Regions from separate parts of the Homo sapiens genome. Here regions 2, 3 and 4 are each linked to region 1. The links are contacts of gene promoters, found by promoter capture Hi-C in blood cells and fetal thymus (Javierre and others, 2016). All regions are on one chromosome and are shown on one strand. The core of a region is centred on a gene start or on the middle of the fragment in contact, and the rest is flanking DNA. Distances in the headings are between cores, read along the strand shown.

Region 1 (3,146 bases), core at 101-2,600:
GTGCAGAGAAGATGGAAGGACATTCGAGCTGTCTTAGTCCCTTTGTGTTGCTATCAAGAAAGACCTGAGGCTGGGTGATTTACAAAGAAAAGAGATTTCTTTGGCTCATGATTCTGCAGGCTGTACAAGAAGCATGGCGCCAGCATCTGTTTCTGGTGAGGTCTTTAGGCTGCTTCCACTCATGGTGGAACATGAAGGGGAGCTGGTGTGTGCAGAGATCACTTGGTGAGAGAGGAAGGGAGCAAGCAGAAGAGAAGGAGGAGCCAGACTCTTTTTAACAACCAAATCTTGTGGGACCTAAGAGTAAGAACTCACTGATTACCACAAGAATGGCACCGTGCCATTCATGAGCCATCTGCCCTCATGACAAAACACCCCCCACGAGACCCCACCTTCAACACTGGGGATCAAATTTCAACATGTGATTTGAAGGAGACAAGTATCCAAACTGTATCATAGGCAAAGGGATCAGACAACTAAGTGGCCAAGAGGTAAGAGAGAGAAGGGGGCCTTCCGGGAGCCAGGAAAGGGAAGAAACACAGGAAGACGGGGCATGCTAACAGAGCAAGGGGAGGGGATGGAGTCAGGGAGAAGGATGAGGCTGGAGAAAACAGAGCCCAGAGCATACCTTTTTAGGCATATTGGAGTCCAGACTTTGCCCTGACAATGGGGAACCATTGGAGCATTTTACTGAAGTGACACATTTGAATTTATGTTTTAGAGAGGTTTCTTTGGCTGCAGTATGGAAAATAGATGGGGTGGAAAGGAGAGATGAGAGAACAGCAGGAAGAGCTGTTAGGAAGCCATCGTGAGTGCCCAGGCAAGAGATAATAGCTTGGACTATAGTAGTGACCCAGGAGCAAAAAAAAAAAAGAAAAAGAAAGAAAGGCTCAAGTTATTCAGGAGGTAAAAGGAACTGGATTGGCATTGGATTGGATGTGGGAGCCAGGGGAGAAGATGACATCAAAAATGATGCTCCAGTTTTTGACTTGGGTAAATGTACAACAGCAAGCAGCCCAGCCGAGTGATTAGAAGCATGGGCTACAGTTTCAACAGCCTGCATTCAAAGTCTGGCTCTGTCCACAGCTAGCTGTTGAACCTGGGGCAAGGCACCGATTCACTGGGTGCCTCAGAGTATAAGAGAGGGATAATAATTGTATCTTCTGTACAGGGCTCTGGAAAAGGTTAAATGAGGTAAAGTATGTCAAATGCTTGGAACGGAGCCTGGAATATCACAAGCACAGTAAATCTTGGCCACTATTACATAGACAAGATCTCAGGAGCAGGCATAGTTTGTGGGGGTGGGAGCATCATGAGCTAGGTTCAAACACACTGATTCTGAGACATCTAGGGAACCACAGAACAAGTTCTGGGCTGGAGATGTAGATTTCATTTGAGAGCTGCCAGTAGTAGAGACGGTAATTGAAGCCATGGGAATGGAGGTGATTGTCCAGGGAGTGTAGGTAAAGTGAGAATAGATAAGTGCCAAAGGGCACAGTCTGGGTATGTCAACATTTAAGTGACAATTTCAGAAAGAGAAGCCAAGGAAGAAACCAGAGAAAAGCAGTTGGAGAAGCAAGAAGGCAACCAGAAGTGGCCTTGGTACAGCTGTGATGGGGAGACAATGACGAAACAGCAGGAACTGGCACTGAGAGTTATTGGTGTAGCTTGGGCTCTCCCCTCATCATCCTCTCCAGCTGGGAGTCATGTGACAGAAGCAAGAAGCCTGTCACAGCGCACATGTAAAAGAGCAAACTCCAGACACACACGTCTTATCTGTGCTGACGGCCCACCTTGGTGACTGGAAATGACACCATCCAATTTTTTCTGGCCGCAATGTTGCACCCCTGATTTTTTCCTTCATATGACAGACTTCACAGCAAATACTCCTACTGAGTCCAAACAACCGCTACGATTGAGAACAAGCATGAATCCGCCACCCACCTTCTCCTGGAAATAAGGTGATGTGTAGGTTCCTCATCTCCTTTCCAGTGTCCACAAACCCATCTGAGTAATTGCAACTTCAAATTTTTCTTTTCTTTTTTTCTGTTACAGACACTGATTCCAGAAGAGTGTTCCATATGCTATGCTTTTTTAAATTTATTATTTATTATTTTTATTTTTTTGAGACAGAGTCTCGCTCTGTCACCCGGGCTGGAGTGCAGTAGCACAATCTCAGCTCGCTGCAACCTCTGCCTCCTGGGTTCAAGCGATTCTCCTGCCTCAGCCTCCTGAGTAGCTGGGATTACAGGCACACACCACCACACCCGGCTAATTTTTGTATTTTTAGTAGAGATGGGGTTTTACCATGCTGCCCAGGCTGGTCTCGAACTCCTGACCTCAAGTGACCTGTCCACCTTGGCCTCCTAAAGTGCTGGGATTACAGGTGTGAGCCACCGCGCCTGGCCCATATGCTAAATTTATTAGAACCCCCAAGCCTGGCCAAAGGCCTCACTCCTAAGATTCTGGTGGCAATGCCAGCATACACTGGGCTCAGAGGAGGTCTTCAGATACCAGGAGGATTACTCTAATTCAACGCAGAAATGTTGTGAAACTGCTTTATATTCTGTCTAGCACAAGCAAGTGGGGGTTACTATTTTTGTAATCATTATAAGAGCCTTCAACTATATAATTTTGGGAAGTGGTGATAAAAAACAGAGTACTTCTCCCTTGAATTCTACCAGCCCCAAACTTTCATTAACATCCAATTAATTTTCTTAAAAAAGTTCAGCATGAAACTCTCTGCAGCACTTTGGCACAGTAGTATCTATGCATTTGGAATGACACAGTAATTTCTTATCCTAGGGAAAAAAAATTACTCTGTCAAAATGAATCTTTTAGCCTAAGATGAACTGGTTCCATTTCTCATTTCTCTTTTCTCAAGGTTATTGGGTTGCTGAACTCCCATGAACCAAAAAGAAAACACTGAATGGTATCCAAACCAGCCTGGAAAGGACAGCGAGAAAAGCCAGAACCAAGGCTGACCAGCCTGAATGCTGGTAAATGTTATCAAGGTAACAACTTCTCATGTATCGGTATGTGACCAATAAAAAGGGAATGTGCTTGATTAGCAAAAAGAATCTCCATGAAAAATAAGGCATATTAGCATGATGACTTTATTATACAGCAATAACATAAATGGCAAT
Region 2 (2,947 bases), core at 9-2,508, 190 kb after region 1:
GTTACAAAATAAACGGCAAAGGCTAGAGACAGTTTTCCTCCCCAACATTTTAAATAAGATTGAGAAATTATTGTTTACATCACAAAATGTCATTTAAAAAAAATTCAGAGTGTCCTTTAGGAGCTAATAGAGATTTTATGAGGACCTCCAAATGTGCCCTGTGTCCCTAGCTAGCCTTCATCAATAAACCTGTATTGAATGTGATAGTACAACAATCCTAGGCCAGAAAAACTGCTTCAGGCCTTGATCAGGTTCCCAAAATATTAGAGGTGATATTAATCATTATCATAAAATTTTAGTTGTTCAGAAAAAAAAAAGAAAAAAGAAATGGTCACATGCTCCAGTGCATTTTTAAAAATCACTTAAAGAAATAAAAGAGAACTCAACTCCACTCCCACAACTGGGTCACAAGCTCCATTGGCTAAGGTAGTTGAGTTCCCAGCCACATGAAATAGTTCTATTTCTCAGAACTTGTCCAAAAGACCTCTCCTGCCTGCAGAGATAGAAGTAAGGAAAAGAGAATCTTTCCTACGCCTTTAAGTTTGACCTGCCTCATTTTTTTTTCCCCTCCCTTTCTGTCCATTGATTTAGGCCATCAAGGAACTGTAGAAGTAGAATAGGAAGTGGGAAAGGGAAGAGATAGTGAAGGATGAAGGGGTGGGCCAATCGTGGGGGGCTTTCAAGGGATCTATGTCTATAGTGGCTGAGGTTAAATGAAGTTAACCACAAAGCTAGAGTCACCTCACCACTTCCTACTTTGTAGACTAATAGGCTGAGCTCTGGTTTAACTTAAACTTGAGTGGTCTGGAGTGAACTCATTCGTTCTACACCAGTTCCTCACAGAATATTATATATTTTTTATCATTATTATTGAGATTTTACGTGTTTTTATTCTTTCCTTTTTTTTTTTTTTTTTTCTGAGACAGGGTCTTGCTCAGGTGCCGGGACTAGAGTGTAGTGGCGTGATCATGGCACACTGTAGCCCTGACCTCCCAGGGTCAAGCAGTCCTCCAGCCTCAGCCTCCCAAGCAGTTGGGACTATAAGTGCACACCACAACACCCAGCTAATTTTTTTTTTTTGAAGAGATGGGGTTTTGCCATGTTACCCAGGCTGGTTTCGAACTCCTGAGTTCAAATAATCTGCCTGCCTTGGCCTCCCAAAGTGCTGGGATTACTGGCGCAAGCCACCACGCCTGACTGTTTTTATTCTTATTAACCAATCTGAAAGCAATTTACTTAATGTCTGGCTGAACACACACACACACAGACGATATTCTAATACAAATGAACATGCACATGACATGATTTTGAGAAATACAGGAAAGCATAAGGAAAAAAATCTATAGTTAACCCAAAAATAAAAATTATTAACTATTTTGTCAATTCTGCTATTAAGATCTTTATATAGTTGGGACTGTATTGTATTCACAACTTTTTTTTTTTTTTTTTTTTTTGAGACAGAATCTCACTCACTCTGTCACTCAGGCTGGAGTGCAGTGGCACAACCAGGCTCACTGCCTCCTGGGTTCAAGGGATCCTCCCACGTCAGCCTCCAGAGTAGCTGGGACTACAGGCATATGCCACCATGCCCACATAATTTTTGTATGTTTTTTTAGAGATGGGTTTTGGGTTTGGCCACGTTGCTCCAGGTGATACAACCTTTAATACTTAGAAATCTAACTTTGTAACAAGCTCTTGCCTTGCTTTTAGAAACTATGTAAGCATTGTTATTTATAGCTACATAGAACTCCTTGAAGTGTATATATTGTAATTTATATAACCATTTTTCTTTTTTCTTTTCTTTTTTTTTTTTTTTTTGAGACAGAGTCTTGCTCTGTCGCCCAGGCTGGAGTGCAGTGGCATGATCTTGGCTCACTGCAAGGTCCGCCTCCTGGGTTCATGCCATTCTCCTGCCTCAGCCTCCTGAGTAGCTGGGACCACAGGCGCCCGCCACCATGCCCGGCTAATTTTTTATATTTTTAGTAGAGACGGGGTTTCACCATGTTAGCCAGGATGGTCTCAATCTCCTGACCTTGTGATCCGCCTGCCTCGGCCTCCCAAAGTGCTGGGATTACAGGCGTAAGCCACCATGCCCGGCCTACTTATATGACCATTTTTCTACTACTAGGCATTTAGTTTTTAACTAAACATATTTTGGAATAATAATATGGATTTCGACCTTTTAAAAGCTCTCACTACCAGCAATGAGAAAATAAGACCTCTTTAAAGAAGGTATAGGCAGCAGTAGTTTAAAAGTATTTTAGTCATTGGTTTCCTTCAGCCAAGAAAAACAGGTACAATATCACTGAATTATGGACAAAAGCAGGAAATACCCTGAAATTTTCCCAAGAATAATATATTTCTTAAACACATGCTGATGTGAAGGTTGGACTTGTTCTAGGAAGGCTTTAGGAAAGAAAGGAGTCTTGAATAGGAGAATAAATATACAAGAGGTGGTATAAAGACATGATGTTGGGGGTAAGAGAAAAAACATGGCAAATGTCGTGAGGTGAAGAACTCAGGCTCTTAACGTGGTGCCTGGCAGAGTTCCTCTGCCATCATTGCCTTTGATGGTGACTGGATTCTGGTAAGCTTACCACAAATCCTTAAATTCTAGGCAGAACACTTGCTTAAACAAAGAATTTAAACAACCATTTGCTAACGGTAATCTCCTGCCTACTCTAAGTGTCTTTTCACCAAATCGTTCCTCTTTTTCTATGCTATTTAGACTTTGCCAGCATTAGAGTGGGCAGCCAGATGTTATTTCACAGAATTCACACGGCTGGAATCGCTGCTGTGAGAATTCTTTTAAAGGGATGTAGAACTTATAGTCTTCCTAAAGCCCCATGTCCCTGAACTTTTGTAGCAATCTGGGGAAGATAGAATGCTGCATTATTATATTACATTTGATTTTCATTTAAATCAATTCTTTTCTTAGAAAGTTATC
Region 3 (2,891 bases), core at 54-2,553, 240 kb after region 1:
AACATAAAGTATATTGATTTCTTTATTATGGCTAGCAAATATTTAAGAATGTTTGCACAGGTCTTCGAATAAATTTTGCTTCTAAGAGAAGTTACTATTTATTCCTAATTAGATGGGGAGGAAAGTCTTTGAAGAGGAACCTCTACTTTGCTTGTCTCCAATTTCTCTCCTCCTCTTCTGTCTTGAACATACCCTCCAATCAAGCTGTAGTTATCGCTAACTTGTTTGTTAAGGTCACCAATGATTTCCACAAGGTTAAATCAAATGTCCAGTGCTTAATCTTTATCTTACCTAAATGCGACATCTTATCCAGCTGGTCTCCTTCCTCTTTGCAAAGCTTTATCTAACTTCCTATAAACATTCTCATGGCTCTCTTCCTCCTTGTCTGGCAGCAGCTTCCTTTAGTTTCCTTGTTGGTTTCTTCTATCTCCCAACATCGCAACACTGAAATGCACTGGGGCTCTATTCTAGGGCTTCCTCTCTGTTTATACATTTCCACAGTGATCTCATGTAATGCAATGAATTTAAATACTAAACACACTCTATAAGCTGAAGCCTCCCCTAATTCATATCTAGCCCAGACCTCTCCCCTCATCGTGCCTCTTGCCTCTATAACTACCTGCTTGATATACACTCTTGAATGTCTAATAAGCATCCCAAACTTAACATGACCTCCCTATCCCCAACCTTTGCTCCTCCCATAAAGTCTTCCCCACATCAGTTACTGGCAAACCCATCTTTCCAAATGATCCACCTTTTCCTTCATATGCCACACACATCTAGCCTGATTGGCAAATTGGTTTTTTTTATACTTCAAATTCTACTCATGATTGGACTGTTTCTCACCATTCCACTGCTACACCTCTGATCCAAGCAACCATCAGCTCTGACCTGGCATACTACAACAGCCTCCTAACCTGTTCTTCCTGCTTCTGACCTCACTACCTCCCTCGCAGGTCTATTATCCACAGACCCTTTAAAAGTCATAGTCCTGAGCCGGGTGCGGTGGCTCACGCCTGTAATCCCAGCACTTTGGGAGGCCGAGGCGGGTGGATCACCTCAGGTCAGGAGTTCGAGACCAGCCTGATCAACATGGAGAAATCCCATCTCTACTAAAAATACAAAATCAGCCGGGCATGGTGGCACGTGCCTGTAATCCCAGCTACTCGGGAGGCTGAGGCAGGAGAATCATTTGAAGCCAGGAGGCGGAGGTTGCAGTGAGCTGAGATCGTGCCATTGCACTCCAGCCTGGGTGACAGGGCGAGACTCCATCTCAAAAAAAGTCTGGGCATGGTGGCTCACACCTGTAATCCCAGCATTTTGGGAGGCCGAGGCGGGTGGATCGGCTCAGGTCAGGAGTTCGAGACCAGCCTGATCAACATGGAGAAATCCCACCTCTACTAAAAATATAAAATTAGCTAGGCATGGTGGCGCATGCCTGTAATCCCAGCTACTTGGGAGGCTGAGGCAGGAGAATCGCTTGAACCCCGGAGGTGGAGGTTGCGGTGAGCCCCGATCATGCCATTGCTCTCCAGCCTAGGCAAAAGAGCGAAGCTCCGTCTCAAAAAAAAAAAAAAAAAAAAAAAGTCATAGTCCTTGTAATGGGCCCCCAAAAGACGCTCTATATGATGCCCTCACTCCACCTACCTCTCTGACTTATCTTCAGCTGTTCTCTCTCCATCCCCTAACCTTCTCTGTTCCAGACAAAAATTAGCTTCCTTGTAGTTCTTCAACGTGCCAGGCATCCGCTCACCTCAAGGGCTTTGTACTTCCTCTTCCTCCCCAAGATATCCATATGGCTTGCTCCCTCAGCTCCTAAGATCTTCATGTTTTCTCAGTGAAGCCATCATAACTGAAATTGCAAACCCCATTCAACCCTACCCTGCACACTCCCTATCCCCACTCCCTGGCTTTATCTCCACAGCACTACTAACAAATCTCATTTCTACTTATTTTGTTCAGAATTTAAGCTCCATGAGAGGATGGATTTGAGTCTATTTTATGGACTGCTATATCCTCAGCATTTGGAACACTGCCTGGCACAATAGATATTCAATTAATATTTACTGAATTCTGAATCTATTTGATGTTATGAAAAGAGGGAAATAAACGATCAGAATTTCATCGTTAACATCATTAAGGCAGGGTTATTTTCAAGGCAGGATGTGCACATTATGGAAGGAAAACAAAAGGAGCCACTCAGGTATGGGGAAAAATAGTCTAACTTCTACTTATATTTATTTTTAACCAGAAAAATGTTCATATTTAAATAAGCTTTTAGGTATGAAAAACAATAAATGAGAACATTTTATTTACACTGCCTTCACCTAAAAAAAAATACATCATAAACTGTTTCATTCCACAAGCTACAGGGCATACGTTAAAAACAACAACAACAAATAACTTCTCTCTCAGCACAGTAATATACTGAAATAGTCATAAGATGTAAATACAAATCAAATGCTTCCCCAAAATGTGTTAATTAAACCCATGGCCATTTTAGGTAATGTCTCTGGTATTTTAAGACTAGTTTTTTGTTTTGATCATGGCGATGTAAGAGCAAGTGAGAAACTGACATGTTCTTTAGGTTCAAACTAAAACATTTTTAGAGTATTAAAAAGCTCAAGAGGCAATAATGAAGCCTCTGACCTTGGGAAGTCCTTTAACATGTGACCAGAACAAAAGAGGCTGGTCTTCATTTTTTAGGAAAAAAGTTAAGATATTAGGGATGAATAGCAGGAGTAGAAAAATGAGAAAATAACTGGATGGTAAAATTCCTTGAATTCTGGGCTCTCCTCACCTCCATCCTTTAATTTTACCCCAGGTCTTCATGTTTTTAGAAAGCCATAAATTGGGTGACTGGAAAAAAAAGAAAGCCAGGGCCCAAGAGT
Region 4 (3,153 bases), core at 359-2,858, 140 kb before region 1:
TCAAACCCAGCCAGGGAGGCTAGGCTGCTCCACACTTCCACCCTCTCACCCCCAGGGCTCCAGAGAGCAGATGAGGAGAAACCCGTAAGGATTTATCTAGCCAGATAAAGCACTGAAGCCACAGCCTGTGGCCTCTGACCGAGATTTCTACGTGAGTGATAGGAAACCTATTTCTGTGCCTGACATTTCTGCCTGTTTCCAGACAGGGTGTCCCAACTCAAGTGCTATGTGGCTTAGGATTTCTGGGGTTCCATTATGAATTGAAGTTTCTCTGGGATGAACCTCAAAAATTTTCCTACCGTATTGCTTCCTAACTTCTCCTTGGTCCTCTGAAACTGCCAAAGTCTTGCTTTGTAGAATTACTTTCTGTAAGCTCCAAGTGTGTATTTATTTTGAATTAACATTGTTTACAGCTTTATTGAAGAATAATTTATATACAATAAACTTCACCAACTTAAAGTGTGAATGGATTTTAGTAAATGAAAATAGTCATGCCACCACCACCACAATCACATTTTGGAACACTGCCATAACCCCGAAATTGTCCTCAGGCCCCTTTGCATTCAACTCCTGTCCATATCCCCAGCCCCAGGAAAAAAACAATCTATTTATTGTCCCTTTAGTTTTGTCTTTTTAGGATTTTCATTAAATATTTTGAGACAGCCAGGTGGGAAGGGATCCCCAGAGAGACTCCAACCGGCCTGCTCCCCGGGAGGAGTGCGCACTGGGGTGGAGCCTTGGGAAGTTCGTGCCATTTGCAGGGGGAGGAGCCTGGCCTTTCTTCTTCCTGGGTGGAACCCGGGATTCAATCTGTGAGGCGGAAGCCTTTACTAGCAGGACTCTCACTCTGCTGAGGGTCCCTGTTTGCCCTTTTTTTCCTTTTCACCCAATAAATTCCATTTTTCTCACCCTTCAAAGTGTCTGTGGGCCTAATATTTCATGGCCGTGTGACAATGACCCGGCTCTTAGCTGAACTAAGGAGAAAGCCCTACAACGATTTCAGGTAAATGGAATCATACAGTACTATACATGGTATTTTGTTTTTGGCTTCTTTCACTTAGCCTGGTGCCTTTAAAATTCATCCACATTGTTGCATCAGTACTCTATAGAGGAGGAAAAATAATTTTTCCTCTACCTTTCATGAGTTCTTAATTGGAACAGACCCTTGTAACAAAAAACAGATTAATAAGAGAAAAACAAACAGAAGATTAATCACATGTATACCTTATGCATATGTGGAAGATACTCAGGGAAGAGTGAATAAAATCGCCAGAGTAGATCTCAAAAGCTTGCTTACACTTGAGACTACAGTCATGTACCATGTCCCCTGAAATAAAGAAAGAAGGGTGTGGGAAATGCCTAGTTATGGGGAACTGGCCAGGAAAAGCCCCATAAACGAGGTTTAGATTTGTTGTACAGATTTAAGCCTATGCCTTCTCCATTGGCAAGAGTGTCTAGTGATCTACCATCCTTTCCTCCTGGTACAGAGAGGGAGACAATCTTACAAATGGAGAGTTCCTTTATAGATGTACATTTCTCTTACAAAAGGGTAACCTCTACTCTCATTTTCAGAGCTTCTCCTGTGTCTGCTGTTTCCCAGAAGAATCACCTCAAATAATCCTTATGCCAAAAAAGCATATTTTGAGGTGGTATATTCTGGTCTCCTACAGTCATATTTTGGGGGTATTGTGCCCTGTAGCCCCATCAACTCCATTCCTTTTAGTTGTTAATATTTAACTGTATATCACCATTTTCTTTTTATCTATATATCAGTTGATGGCCATTCAGATTGTTTCCAGTTCGGTGTTATTATGGAATGATGTTATGAACATTCATGTATGTCTTTCAGTGGGCATATTTTCTCATTTCTCTTGGGTAATACCTAAGAGTGGAATTACTGGGCGGTAAGTGTATGTTTAACATTTTAAGAAGCTTCTTTTTTTGAAACATCTGTATTGTTTTCCATTGCCAACAGCAGCGTATGAGATTTCTAGTTGCTCTATAGCCTCACCAACACTTATTATTGCCAGTATTTTTAACCTTAGCTATTCTAGTGTGGGTGTAGTGGTCTCCCATTGTGGTTTTAAGTTGCAGTTCTGTAATTACTAATGATGCTAAGCATTTTTTCATGTGATTTTTTGACAGTTCATGTATTTTCTTTTGTGCATTGTCTATTCAAATATTTTTCTCATTATATTATTGGATTGTTTTCTTAAGTTGTAAGAGAAATTAATGTTATCTGGATACAAATCCTTTGTTAGATATATATTTTACAAATATTTTCTCTTAATGGCTTAGCTTTTCATTTTCTGAATTGTGTCTTTTGACAAGCTAATGTTTTAACTCTTTATGAAGCCCAATTTATCAATTTCTCTTTTACAGTTCATGCTTTTTGTAATCTATTACATAAGAAACTTGCCCTAATCCAAGGTTACGAAGATTTTTTACTATATGTTATTCTACAAGGTTTATAGTATTGGCTCTGAGATTTAGGTCTACTCTCTGTTTTGAGTGAAATTTGTGTATGCTGTGAGGAAAAGGTCAAGGTACCTTTCTTAATATAGAGATCCAGTTATTCCAGTATAATTTATTGATGGCTGTTCTTTTCTTACCTTGGCACTTTATCAAAACTCAATTGACTATGTTAGTGTAGGTCTATTTCTGGACTCTCAACTCTGCTGCATTAATCCACATACCTGTCCTTATGCCACTACCACACTGTCCTGATTTTCTAGCTTTTCTAGTAAGTCCTAAAATCAGATAGTATAATTCCATTAACTTTGTTCTTTTTAAAAATTGTTTTGGGTATTCTAGTTCCTTTGCAGATGCTGCATTTTAAATAATGCTTTAATGATTGGGAAATATAGCATATCTAATACTATACCCATTTTATTTATTTATTTATTTATTATTTTTTTTTTGAGACAAAATGTCACTCTGTTGCCCAGGCTGGAGTACAGTGGCACCATCTTGGCTCACCGCAGCCTCTGCCTCCTGGATTTAAGCAATTCTCCTACCTCAGCCTCCCGAGTAGCTGGGATTATAGGCATGCACCACCATGCTTGGCTAATTTTTGTATTTTTAGTAGAGATGAGGTTTTACTATGTTGGCCCAGGCTGGTCTTGAACTCCTGACCTCAGATGATCAGCCTGC

The links. Contacts are between HindIII fragments. The CHiCAGO score rates a contact against its expected background, and 5 or more counts as called.
Region 2: a contact is called between a fragment that was not itself captured here and the fragment with the promoter of LINC02412 in region 1, in 1 of 17 cell types (megakaryocytes). The highest score is 5.0, in megakaryocytes.
Region 3: a contact is called between a fragment that was not itself captured here and the fragment with the promoter of LINC02412 in region 1, in 2 of 17 cell types (erythroblasts and M2 macrophages). The highest score is 6.3, in erythroblasts.
Region 4: a contact is called between a fragment that was not itself captured here and the fragment with the promoter of LINC02412 in region 1, in 1 of 17 cell types (endothelial precursors). The highest score is 5.6, in endothelial precursors.

The regions. Positions count from the first base shown.
Region 1 is chr12:93,173,016-93,176,161 of GRCh38, forward strand. LINC02412 (long intergenic non-protein coding RNA 2412) reads left to right here and starts at 1,351. Exons shown (of 3, transcript NR_120492.1): 1 at 1,351-1,961; 2 at 2,885-3,014. All of the region lies in intron 3 of LOC643339 (a long non-coding RNA gene), which reads right to left. The HindIII fragment of the contact is 10,573 bases long and covers 1-3,146 here.
Region 2 is chr12:93,363,475-93,366,421 of GRCh38, forward strand. All of the region lies in intron 1 of LOC643339 (a long non-coding RNA gene), which reads right to left. Among named protein-coding and RNA genes, the nearest start is that of NUDT4, 13 kb to the right of the region's middle. RefSeq lists a silencer at 786-855. The HindIII fragment of the contact is 2,664 bases long and covers 1-2,590 here.
Region 3 is chr12:93,412,886-93,415,776 of GRCh38, forward strand. The region is part of intron 1 of UBE2N (ubiquitin conjugating enzyme E2 N); the gene reads right to left. Among named protein-coding and RNA genes, the nearest start is that of UBE2N, 28 kb to the right of the region's middle. The HindIII fragment of the contact is 1,937 bases long and covers 336-2,272 here.
Region 4 is chr12:93,029,197-93,032,349 of GRCh38, forward strand. The region is part of intron 3 of LOC643339 (a long non-coding RNA gene); the gene reads right to left. Among named protein-coding and RNA genes, the nearest start is that of LINC02413, 40 kb to the left of the region's middle. The HindIII fragment of the contact is 644 bases long and covers 1,287-1,930 here.